Regions from separate parts of the Homo sapiens genome. Here region 1 is linked to region 2. Evidence: promoter capture Hi-C in human tissues and cell types (Jung and others, 2019). All regions are on one chromosome and are shown on one strand. The core of a region is centred on a gene start or on the middle of the fragment in contact, and the rest is flanking DNA. Distances in the headings are between cores, read along the strand shown. Region 1 overlaps BCAS3 (BCAS3 microtubule associated cell migration factor). Region 2 holds the start of TBX4 (T-box transcription factor 4).

The links. Contacts are between HindIII fragments. The study calls those that stand out against the background at their distance.
Region 1: a contact is called between a fragment that was not itself captured here and the fragment with the promoter of TBX4 in region 2, in 1 of the 25 tissues and cell types used here (mesendoderm cells).

What each region holds. Positions count from the first base shown.
Region 1 is chr17:61,075,386-61,081,449 of GRCh38, reverse strand. It overlaps BCAS3 (BCAS3 microtubule associated cell migration factor), which reads right to left. Exons shown (of 24, transcript NM_017679.5): 21 at 2,921-3,117. The region is part of intron 2 of BCAS3-AS1 (BCAS3 antisense RNA 1); the gene reads left to right. Among named protein-coding and RNA genes, the nearest start is that of BCAS3-AS1, 58 kb to the left of the region's middle. The HindIII fragment of the contact is 4,126 bases long and covers 1,694-5,819 here.
Region 2 is chr17:61,447,794-61,454,299 of GRCh38, reverse strand. It overlaps TBX4 (T-box transcription factor 4), which reads right to left and starts at 1,878. Exons shown (of 9, transcript NM_001321120.2): 1 at 1,723-1,878. LOC124904042 (a long non-coding RNA gene) reads left to right here. Exons shown (of 2, transcript XR_007065872.1): 2 at 1-1,058. RefSeq lists enhancers at 1-266, 1,067-1,908. The HindIII fragment of the contact is 13,471 bases long and covers 1-6,351 here.

The DNA of each region.
Region 1 (6,064 bases), core at 2,507-5,006, 370 kb after region 2:
TTAACAAAGGGAAAGTCTGCGAGGAAAATTCTTAAGGATTCTGAAAAGTAGCTATATCTGCTTTTAAAAGAAGCGAGTTAGAATTATCTTAATAGAAGGACTATACCTGAGGAAAAGAGTAACAAAGAAAGCTGAGGAGGCCACGAAACAATGGGGCAAAGACATCCTCAGAAAAAGTACAGCACAGGGCTTTATAAATAGCAGCTGGTCAATCACTAGAAAAAAAATGAGACAGTGTCTTGTGCACGGTTTAGCAAAAAAACTAAATGTGTTATATAGTTGTGAAGAGAATAAATTGGTTACTTATTTTAAACGCTTTATTATTAAGATTTAAATAACCAAATGACTGTTGTAAACACGAGTACACTGAATCACTAAGTTGAGGACTGCAAAGAATTGACTCCCTGATCATGGCTTCAGGTCCTAATCTAGACCATATTTAATCAATTAGCATCACTGAAAATTGGTCTGACACTCTCACTGTATTCTGTCATTATTACCTGACATCTTGGTCAAAAAATGTCATTTTTAGAAAGCTGGAGGAATTATGCTGGAACAAAAAAAATGCAGAGAAGAAAAAAACAAAATACAAAGCAGAGTAAACAAAAAATACTAAACAAGGTATTAAAAGAAGATACATTCTTCTTGATGAATCGTTCTTTTTTTGTGTGTTGGTTTGTTTGTTGTTTTGAGACGGAGTCTCACTCTGTTGCCCAGGCTAGAATGCAGTGGCACGATCTCGGCTCACTGAAATCTCCGCCTCCTGTGTTCAAGCAATTCTCCTGCCGCAGCCTCCCGAGTAGCTGGGATCACAGGTGTGCACCACCATGCCCGGCTAATTTTTTGTATTTTTTGTATTTTTTTGGTAGGGTTTTGATGGGGTTTCATCATGTTGGCCAGGCTGGTCTCGAACTCCTGACCTCATGATCCACCCTCCTCAGCCTCCCAAAGTGCTGGGATTACAGGCGTGAGCCACCACGCCTGGCTGAATCATTCTTTAAGAAGATACATCAGTCAGGGGAAAGCAAAAATGTAAAAAGGGACAGCAGTTAGGAGTCTGTGAGATGTTGCTAGGGTGCTGGCATTAGGAATGGAGAGGAGTGGAAGGTTTCTAGATGTATTTTGAATAGAAATGACATAAGTTGGTGAAGAATTAGATGTGGCATCTGTGAAAGGAGAGATTTCAAGGATAACCTCTAGATTCTGTCTTGAGTAGGTAGTTTGTGGAGTAATTTAAAGAGATGAGGCCAGGTGCAGTGGCTCACGCCTGTAGTCCCCACACTTTGGGAGGCAGAGGCGGGCAGATCACCTGAGGTCAGGAGTTCAAGACCAGCCTGGCCAACATAGTGAAACTCCATCTCTACTAAAAACACAAAAACTAGGGAGGCGTGGTGCCACATACCTGTAATACTAGCTACTCAGGAGGTTGAGGTAGGAGAATCGCTTGAATACAGGAGGCTAGAATACATTCTAGATGTTGCAGTGAACTGAGATCGCACCACAGCACTCCAGCCCAGGTGACAGAGTGGGACTCAGTCTCAAAAAAAAAAAAAAAAAAAAAAAAAAATACTCATGCCTGTAATCCCAGCATTTTGGGAGGCCAAGGCGGGAGGATCACTTGAGGTAAGGAGTTCAAGACCAGCCTGGCCAAAATGTTGAAACCCCGTCTCTACTAATAATACAAAAATTAGCTGGGTCTGGTGGCGGGCGCCTGTCATCCCAGCTACTCAAGAGCCTAAGGCAGGAGAACTGCTTGAACCCAGGAGACAGAGGTTGCAGTGAGCAGAGATCACACCATTGCACTCCAGCCTGAGTGACAGAGCAAGACTCCGTCTCAAAAAATAAAATAAAAAATAAATAAAATAAAATAGAGATGACAAAGAATAGGGGTGAGAGCAGGATTAGGGAGTGAGATGAAGAGTTGCAATTCAGACCCAAGTAGGCAGCCGGCCGTACTCTAGGCTTATCTCCTGGCACCTCCTGGCAGGTACTCAGTAAATATGTGTCATATTTTCTAAACAGATACATCAGGCATAATCCAACTTTGCAACAATTTTCATCTTGTTATAAAAATTTTTTATTGTTACTGACAAAGAAGACAAAAACGTATTTCCACTATGTAACTGGAACATTTTTTCCCACTATTTTTTAAAAGGTGTGCAAGAAAAAGGTCAGAGGGTTGTTTTATATTCAATTCAAGATATACTATAGAGTTTTTTTTAAAGAGAAGACAAGAAAAGGGAGATTATATTACATTAGACTGAGTCCTTCATTATCTGTTGCACCCTAATGTGTCAAGTCTTGGTATAACAAATTAAACTGCTAAGCAAACTTGAGACTGCAAGTCAAAACTGTCTGAGTTGCAATTAAAAAAAAAAGCTAATAATAAAAAGCATAATTTGTACACCTGTCCTAGGATTCCTACAAATAAGGATGAGAGAACATGTATTATAAAAATATAGAAGATAAACTATAATTGAATTTATACCAACGTTTTTCCATCCAAAAACTTTATATAATCTAAAAGAAGGGAGATACAGGATTAGATAAAAATCACAGATGAAATTTAATTGAAAGGTGGTGCCAACTTCAGAAAGATCAGGAAAAGAATACATAATCAGATTCAAGCAGTTAGAAATATAAGCAAAGCATCAAAAAGTGGAATTGCTTGAAAAGTGCAGTGACTATTAGATTTAGGGAGAATATAATCTGAAAAGCAAGTATTTATTGCACGTAATGTGATCCCACGAGACCCTATATACCATCTCAAGTAATGACAGGGAATTACGTGCAACAGTACATGTAGTCTGCAACATGATACTGTGCCAAAAGGGGAAACCTAAATATTACATATGATGCTCATTTCACACGAACATATTAATCCTTTTGTTCAAATCACTCCCTAATTCTCATTTCCTACCTGAGACTGTTGAGATCAAGATCATCTGTATCAAAATCCAAAAGAGGCTGTGGCGTGTCACTCGGACCATGAGACTGCAACACAGATGAACTGGATGAGATAACTGTGGTTTGGCCTGAGGGATGGATGGTTTTGAACTGGAACTGTGGACCCATCCACAGACGTCTATGGGGTCCAGTGTGTGTTACAATTTCAACCTGGAATGGAGTAGCAATGATGATTTAAATGGTTTGTGATCCTGATTTGAGAGACTTCACAATCCCCCATTCTTCCTCTTAACACCCACATTCTTCAAGAAGCCCATGTTAAAGTGGCAAAGGGATAGGACACCCATAATTAAAAGGTGATGATAATCACAGCTGATGTAGACATTCAAAATATCCCTCTACTGCTTTTCATCAACATAAGCCAAAAATACATTTTGTGTACATATACATACACAGACACACATGCACACCTCACACACATATACAAGACAAAAATCACATGAAAGTAAAAGGACCAGTTGCTTGCCTCATATAACTAGTGTCAGCTCCGTAGGGTCTACCTTTTCATTCATTCTAGACAGTACTTACCATGTTGTGGGCATGCACTGAATACTACACCTATTAATCCACAGATTAAAAGCAATTCCTTCACTGAGGATCAAGCTTATGACAAACGTGAAGTTGTTCTTGAACCATCCAAGGAAAAGTAAAGGTCTGAAATAATTTTAATGCCCAAAGCCACTTTATTTCCACAATAAAATATTATAATATTTATTATACTGCCCTAATATTACCCCAATCCACTTTTAAATGAAAACATTATTATATATTTTCTCTCAAACTAGATTTTTGTCTTCCAAATACCATTAATTAGTGTGTTTTCTCAACTGCCACAAATATCGACACAGGCATTTGATGTGCTACAAAACAGTAATACCAAAATGCTTTATGAATTTCACGCTCAATGGGGGGGATAGGGAATGTTGCCAATATTTTATTTTATTTATTTTATTTCATTTTTTTTTTGAGACGGAGTCTCGCTCTGTTGCCCAGACTGGAGTGCAGTGGCGTGATCTCCGCTCACTGCAAGCTCCGCCTCCTGGGTTCACTACATTCTCCTGCCTCAGCCTCCCCAGTAGCTGGGACTACAGGCGCCCGCCACCACGCCCGGCTAATTTTTTGTATTTTTAGTAGAGACGGGGTTTCACCGTGTTAGCCAGGATGGTCTTGGTCTCCTGACCTGGTGATCCGCCTGCCTCGGCCTCCCAAAGTGCTGGGATTACAGGCGTGAGCCACTGCGCCCGGCCGCCAATACTTTATTAAACATTATAAAGTCAAAGAAGTGGGTAGAAGACACTTGGAAAAACCTGAAAATATATATATTACATGATTTTTTTTTTTTTTTACAAATAATCAACTCGAATGAGAGACTAAATATACAAACTAGTTTAAATGTCTTGTCAATGGTACATTCATGCCTGTGCAAATACTTTATGTAATTGACTTCCCACATGCCTTATTTTTGTCCTGAGTTCTTTTATATTTAATCACATTTCTCTGATTGTGGTGATTAATTCTTAACAAAACATAACTGAAAAGGTTCACAGAGTGTAGCCCTGTGTGAGTCCAAAAGGGCAAAAGCATCATGGTCTTTGGAACAATATTCACATTCCTACTAATCACAGGGAGAAAAATGCTCAGATTGAGGACAGTGATTTCTGATTCAAGTAGTTGTATTCAGCAATGTAAATTAGGCCACAGATAAAGCATTCTGTGTACTTTAAGCTCAAAACCATCAGTGTCACAGAGCCCAGAGGTAAACAGATGCCTGTTCAATTTCACCGAGGCGATGGCCAGATGTTCCTATTCACTCTCCTGTTGTGTGCCGGACAAACACATTGTATATACTTTCACACTGACAGCACACATTACCCCTTTTTCTAATTGAAAAGTTGAAGTGAAGGACAGTGGTTTCTCTGCCAGCATTCCTTGGACAACATTTTGATTTTGGAAAAAACACACATTTGGGGTTTACTTTATCTTCCTAACATTAAGAAAGGATGGACCGCCACATGCCAGGAACTGAAGAATCAACTTCCTTCAAGGAACTTCCTGTGAATATTTTTGGTGTGATGAAATAAATACATGTTACCTAGACACTGCTTGATTTTCCAGTTTACTTTACTTTTGATTTTCCAGACTTTAGTTTTCAGGCTACCCTCCTTGAGAAAGAAATGAAACTACAAATGGCCTCCACATTTTTGAGGCACCTGTCCGATGAAAAGCTGTCAGATTGGTAACCTGAGATAGGTCATTAGCTTCATAAAATGATGTCAGACTTGAGGCAGACATAACAGCATTTGTAATGAAGTCATTTGTAATCCCATCATTTTGACATCTGCCCAAGTATCTTTTATTTCAAAGCCCTTGAGATGAAGACAGCTTCACCTGGCAAGGGGAGGGATGGTCAGTGAAGCTGTTGGAGACTGGGCATGGTGGCTCTTGCCTGTAATCCCAGCACTTTGGGAGGCCAACACAGGAGGATTGCTTGAGCCCAGGAGTTCAAGACCAGCCTAAGCAACATAGGGAGATCCTGTCTCTACATTAAAAAACAAACAAAAAAAACAAATTAGCCAGCATGGTGATGCGTGCCTGCAGTCCCAGCAATGTTGTAGGGCTGGCTTAGAGACCACTAAAAGCAGCATTACATGGGCTTAGGAAAGGAAACCAAGGCACCATCAGAATTTCTGCAGGGTGGAATGTTATATTTCCAATAATGAAAGTATGAACTCAATCTTCGGAAAATGTTGGCTCCACAAAACAAATCCCAAAGATTGCTGAGTGGCTTCACTGTTTCATCAAGGTCAACTTTTATTTTAAACCTGATGAAAATGTGTTCCAAAGAGCCTATTTAAATTCCAAGCTCCTGGCTGGCCACAGTGGCTCACGTCTGTAATCCCAGCACTTTGGGAGGCCAAGAAGGGTGGATTGCTTGAAGTCAGGAGTTCAAGACCAACCTGGCCAACATGGCGAAACCCCTTCTCTACTAAAAATACAAAAATTAGCCAGGCATGGTGGTGCATGCCTGTAATCCCAGCTACTCAAGAAGCTGAGGCATGAGAATCGCTTGAAACCAGGAATTGGAGGTTGCAGTGAG
Region 2 (6,506 bases), core at 629-3,128:
TAGGTTACTGGGGATATGTTTCTTGCACTAGGGGAACTGTTACTATTTCGTGCTTTTTAAAATATTTTAATTGTCCTTATTACCATAGTAGTATTTTGATCAGTTCGGGAACTTTGAGAATATCCTATCGCGTGGATTATTACTACTTTGTATCTTTAATACTGTATGGTTAAAGCCCTGCTTTGATTCGTTAGCTTACTGTTACTAAATTTGTTGTTTTCCTGTCACTGTTCCATCATTTCAGGGCCGCCTGGCACATTCATAATACTATTTCCAATATCGAGGTGACATAGTGAACAATAGGTCACGTTAATCTATTGTAATTTTTTATTCTTGCTTTGTATCCCTAATACGTTTCCGTTGCTTGCTCTTCATTTTGATTATACTTTGTCACGCTGTTTCAATAACTTCTTGTTTACCATAACTTGTTATATAATTGTTCTCAAAATTCATGTTAATTTCCCTCACATCCTTATAATACTTCTTGTTATCTAACCACAATTTGTTTTGTTAGGCTTGCTCATAACACTCCAGGTATTATTCTTCAACACACCCCGACAGTATCTTGTTACTTTGTCATTATTTGTAATGTTACAGATCTGAACTCGCTAGTTACTCATCACATCATTACTTCTTGTTATTTTGTCATACTTTGTAATATTGTTGTAGCTCTTAATACTCTGATTATTTTTCATCACATTGGTACAATACTTCTTATTACTCAACCATTATTTATAATGTTCTTGTGACTATTAATACATTGGTCATAAATTGTCATATTACTCCAGCAATTCTTGTTAATATGTCTTTATTTATATTACTATTGCTCCTAAGATTTTAGTTAATATTTCTTTTAATAGTTCACTGTAGTATCAATAATACATTATATTATTATATCACTACCACTAATAGTATTTCCCTTAATAGTATTTTCATTGTTCATCTTTCTCCTACAGTTCGTTTGCTAGTTTCCTACAGTTTGGTAATTTGTTACACTATTACTATATGTTATATTAGTGCAATTGGTTTTAATAAACAGTCCTTACATTGTTCCTCTATTTAGAATTACTTTGTCTTTAATCCTTTTAAAAATTGTGATTACTATTTTCACTTGATTCTGAAAGTGACTATGATTGTATTATTTGGAAGTTCACGTGTTATATCAGTTATGCCGATTAGCCCTTTCTTTGGTAATTGTTCACATTCCAATAATCTTTAATCATCGATCATTATTTATATATAATGTTCCTTGCTTTAATTTTGACTAGTCTATTGCATCAAAGGCTCTGAGTCTAGTGTTCTGATCACTCACATATCTACACGGATTTTCGCTCCAGTACCGGGGCCCTCTTCCTTGGCCTTGCATATTCTGCAAACACCAATTTCCAGGCCACCGCTCCGCCTGTCACGGCCTTGTTCTTAGGGTGCTGGCGCTGTCGATATTTCTATGCTCTTGGATCTCTAGACCCAATTCATCGCGTTACTCAGAGAGGAGGGCTCGTGCCCCAACTACTGGGTGTCGGGCCGAGGCGGCGGCCCGACCCAAGGCACTTCGCGCCGCCTTCCTGCAACTTTGACCGCCCCTGAAGTTCTTCCCCGGGTCGCGTGACTCACCCCTTTCCAGCTCATCCTCCTGTCCGTCCCCGCAGCCTAACCCTGAGCCCCTGTGGCCCCAGCCCCGCACGCCCAGCTCGTCCCCACTCGGCTGGAACCCACACTCACCCTAATTGCGGTGCCGCATGCGGAGGCGCCAGCGGCCCGAGGTCCCCTGCAGGTTCGGGTCCGAGGAGCGCGGGACGGCCGGGGCTCCGACTCCGCGCCGCTGGGTCAGGGTCCAGCTGCCTGCCGTGCCCTCGGGGCTGGACACATCCCGGCTCTGGAGCGGGCCCTTGATCTCCAAGGCTGCACTTTGGGGCCTCAATTCCCTCCTCCTCCCTCCCTCCCTCTGGGGCCGCCCCCCCTCCGCGCTGACGTCGCCGCTGTCAATCAGTCTGCGCCCGCTGTCCCCCGGGGAGGGGGGCTCCAGGGTTCCCCGGCGTCGCGGTCCCCAAGATCCCGAGCCCCACGCGAGCCGCCGGCTCCTCCACCGCGCGGCCCAGTGCCCTCCTCTTGGCCCTCGGGCCCCGCGAGCCGGGTAGGGGCTGGGAGCCCCGCATGGTTTAGATTAGAGAGGCGGGAAGCAAGGGCGAGCAGCCCGGCTCTCAGCCGAGGCTCGACAACCAGGAGGGCTCGCCTGGCCCCGCCGTGCCCGAAGACTAGGACGCTCCACGACCGGGTCTGGCCACCCCCTGCCGGCGCCCGCTTCCAGGCAGCGGCTTCTACGGATCCCCGGCCGCAGAGCCCCGCTCCCCAAGCCCTGCTCCCAGCTGTGCGCGCTGTTCATTTGGGAGCCCCGGTCCCGAGGTCGCAGGCGCACACGCGCCTCACAGGCCCACGCTCCGCTTCCCTACCATGCCCACCACGCGGCCTTGCACTTCCAGGCCCTGGGCACGGCCCTTCTGCTCACCCGCCCTCCTTGTCCCGGCCCAGGGGGCCGCGGGCGCTGGACCCGGCCTGGCGCGCCTCGAAGTCGGCCGCGGAGGTCAGGGGTGAGGACTGGGAGGAAGCCCGGTGGCCGGGTGCGGGGCGGCGGCGGCAGGGAAGTGCTGGGCCGGCCTCTGAGTGGAGCCGAGTCCGGCTCGGGCCTTGACAGAGCCCAGGCCGGGCTGCAAGGTGCCAGGCTTGGCAGAGCCTCCTGGGGAAACTGCGGCCCAGGGCCAGGATTCCGCGGCAGCTCCTTGAGATCCTGGAGAGCTGAAGAGGAAGCCCAATGCCTGCCCTAGTCTAGGAAGTGGAGACTGGGGAGCGTCCTGCTCCCAGCCACCCGGTTCTTTCCGCCTCAGAAACGGAGTCCCGCTCAGCACCTAGACCTCCCTGCCCAGCCTCTGAGCTCTCTGTCTCCACTTACCTCTGTTTCTCTCTGTCTGTACCTCCCACAGGACGCTGCCTTTCCACTAGCAGACGGACCCATGCGGACCCCAGCCCGTGCCCCAGCCTCCCCGCCTGTCACATGCCCAGAATCCTGGGGCAGAAATAGGCCTGCCCACCCATCTGCAAAGACAGCAGAATCCTCATCAATAAGGATCCCCAGAGTGGTCCCTTAGTGCTTAGCATGGGCTGCATCCCTCCCTCCACCAGTGTCCTCAACCAGCCTCTGTCCCTTTCCAGATTCTGACCTCAAAATCAGCTTGAAGGGGAGAGGACAGGGAAATTCTTTTCCTGGATGGGTCTGTCCCTGTTCTAATGCTAGGAAATGGAAAGCCAGCATCAATGCCTTCTTTACCACCCTGCACTCAAAGGTGGAAGCAAAAACGCCAACTCAGAAAAGCCAGTCGCTGCTGCTGTCAGGAGCCTGAAATCCACCTCAACAGTGGGCCGCTGCTCAAGTCCCTATCACCATTGCAGTACCAGGTCCCACCACCCTATCACCATTCCTCTCATGGAGTCTCAAACCAGGGAGGGGAAATAATATCTAAGAGGAGTGGAGGAGCAGAATCCTTCCCCAAACCTGCGGACTCCTGGAATGGAGAAAGGGAAGGCCCTGGCGTTTCAGGAGATGCCTGGGGAGTCGTGTTTCCTGTGTTAGGGAGACCTGGATGACATGCCTCAGCTTCTGCTCGCAAGCCCCCTCCCATGACCTCTCCAACAGCCTGTAGGGAAATCCCTTGCAAATAAATAGTATACAGACTAAGCAACCAACTACTGTGTGGAATGGTGAACAGGGAGGGCAGTGAATCACCAGGTACTATGGGAAGACTAGAGCTAGGCCAGACTCTGGAAAGAATTTGTTGACAGTCATTGGAGGAAGTTCATACTGAGATCGTATCGTATAGTTCTTTAATAAAACAAACAAACAAAAACAAACAAACTAGACTGGAACCTTCCTATAAGTGCAAGGCTTTCTGGAGACTGATGGCAGACAGTCTAAATTAATATCAACAGGTTCATGATGACATGGAGAAATGAGATATGGAAGGGACAGGTAAGCTTTTGGCAGTAAAAAGGAAGGGGCAAACCAGCCAGCAAGTGAGTAAATGAGAGCGGTTCTGTATGCACATTCCCCATTATTAGAATGGAATACCTCATTTAACTGACTCTAAGACACACATTTTTCACATTCTGGTATCTCTGAAACTGAGATGCATCTGATAGCTAGCGGTGTGTCATAGCTTAATTAGCAGCGTTTTTTCTTCTTAGTCGTATGTAAAATAATAGAAAAGCTTATAATGGATGCTGCATAGTATTTGCTGAAAAAGAGCCTGTGTAGAAGAGGAGAAGACCAATTTTTTTTTCTCCAAAACTACTTTGAGGAGTTCAAAATATGAAAACCCTCCTCAACTAGCTAAACAAATAACTGACGGTGCCACACATCGGTCACACTGATTTGGGTTGGCTTGGGGGAAAGTGCTCAGGTTTGGTAGCAGGCTCACCTTGGTTTTGAAACCTAGCTCTGATTCCTGGCTCACCATTTTGCAGCTATGTGACCTTGGGCAAGTTCATTAATGCTCATATAAAATGGGGATAATTACGCCAACCTACTAGCTTATTGTGAGGATTGCCTATATTAATGCATGGTTGATAAAGGCTAGCTCCCAAGTATTTTAAAAATTTATTCTACTTTTCTCTTTTCCGCAAAAGGCTTGAGGTGGTTTATAACCAGAATTAGCTAATAAAAACACAAGTAGAAAAACACATTAGGATCAAGGAAAAAGGAGTAAGCATATATGCTATCACTAAGTGCTGACAAAGTTGCTATAATTGAGAATAAAATCTGGCTTATGAGCCAGCAGAGCAACATGGTAGTTCTCTATATCAGAAATGTGGAAACAGTAACTCTTTGGTGAATGGTGAAGGAACAGACTTTGTCCTGGCCCTAAATTTTAAAAAGTAGTTTCTCGGCTGGTCGCAGTGGCTCATGCCTATAATCCCAGGACTTTGGGAGGCCTAGGCAGGCGGATCATTTGAGGCCTGGAGTTCAAGACCAGCCTGGCCAACATGGTGAAACACTGTCTCTACTAAAAATACAAAAATTAGCAAGACATGGTGGCGCATGCCTGTAGTCCCAGCTACTCTGGAGGCTGAGGCAGGGGAATCACTTGAACCTGGGAGGCAGAGGTTTCAGTGAGCCGAAATAGTGCCATTGCACTCCAGCCTGGATGATAGAGTGAGAGTCTGTCTCAAAAATAATAATAATAAATAAAATTTAAAAATAAAGAAAAAATAAAAGTAGTTTCTAATGTAAATGTTTATTGTTATATCGTACAGTGTTTTACCATTTACAAAGTGGTTTCACAGCTGCCATCTCATTTGATACTGTATTAACTCCATTTTTTTCTCTATTTTATGGATTCATTCATCCAAAGAAATATCAAATGCTTACTATGTGTTAGACACACAAACAGGAGGAAAGGCCAACTGACCATTCTGTTAGTTACCCAACTACTTGACTAACCCATCACTAACAGCAAATTCATTAATGAATGACCTGCAAGCTGAGTAATTAATCACCTAAATAATCAATCTCAGAGACAGCAGGGGCTACAGGATAAGTTGGGGATGCCAGTCAGCACAGTAGGGTGGCTCCCTAGAGCCTGGGGTGGCTTTGGTTGAGGATGACCTTTTGGTGGAGGATGAGCTGGCACCATAGTGTAGTGAAAAGCAATTACAATTTTTTAAAAAAATTAGGTTTTTGGAGCACTTAATAAATACCAATGCCAAGCTCTAACCCAGACCAACTGAGTCAGAATCTCTGTGAGTAGAGCCAAAGCCGGACATGGTGGCGCCGCTTGTAGTCCTAGCTACTCAGGGGGCCAAGGCAGGAGGATAGCTTGAGCCCAGGAGTTCCAGGCAAGGCTGAGAACCACTGGTCTATGAAAATCCTGTTCTCTGCTCTCCTAGTCTCTCTTGTAGCTAGAGATGGCCACGTAATCCAGTGTTGGCCAATAAGACCTAAACGGAAGACTGGAGGGGAGAAAGGTTGTGGGAAATATTTTGCTTTCTTGATAAAGGGGAAGATGTGATCTTCCTTTCCCCTGCAGATGAGATCCTTGAAGTTCTCACCCTCTAGAGACCTTAAGGAAGAAGGATGAAAGTCAATATGTTAAGGATATCCAAGGAAAAACAGAAAGGGCCTGAGTTCCTTATGGCATCATTGAGCAGGTAAACCAGTGCCAGCCTGCTTCTTATACATAAGAAAAATAAACCTTATTTCTTTTCATCATTGTTAGTCTGGATGGATCTCTGTTACTTACAGCTAAATATACTCCTGAAGCATATGTAAAAGTTCCCAGCTCAGTGTTCCTTTTTTTTTTTTTTTTTTAAAGAAACAGGGTATCACTCTGTTGCCCAGGCTGGCATGCAGTCATAGCTCACTGCAGCCTCAAAGACTCCTGGGCTCAAGCCATCCTCTTGCTTCACCAGCTCAGTGCTGAGTGCCTTCCTCCATAATGAAAGATACTTACCTGAGT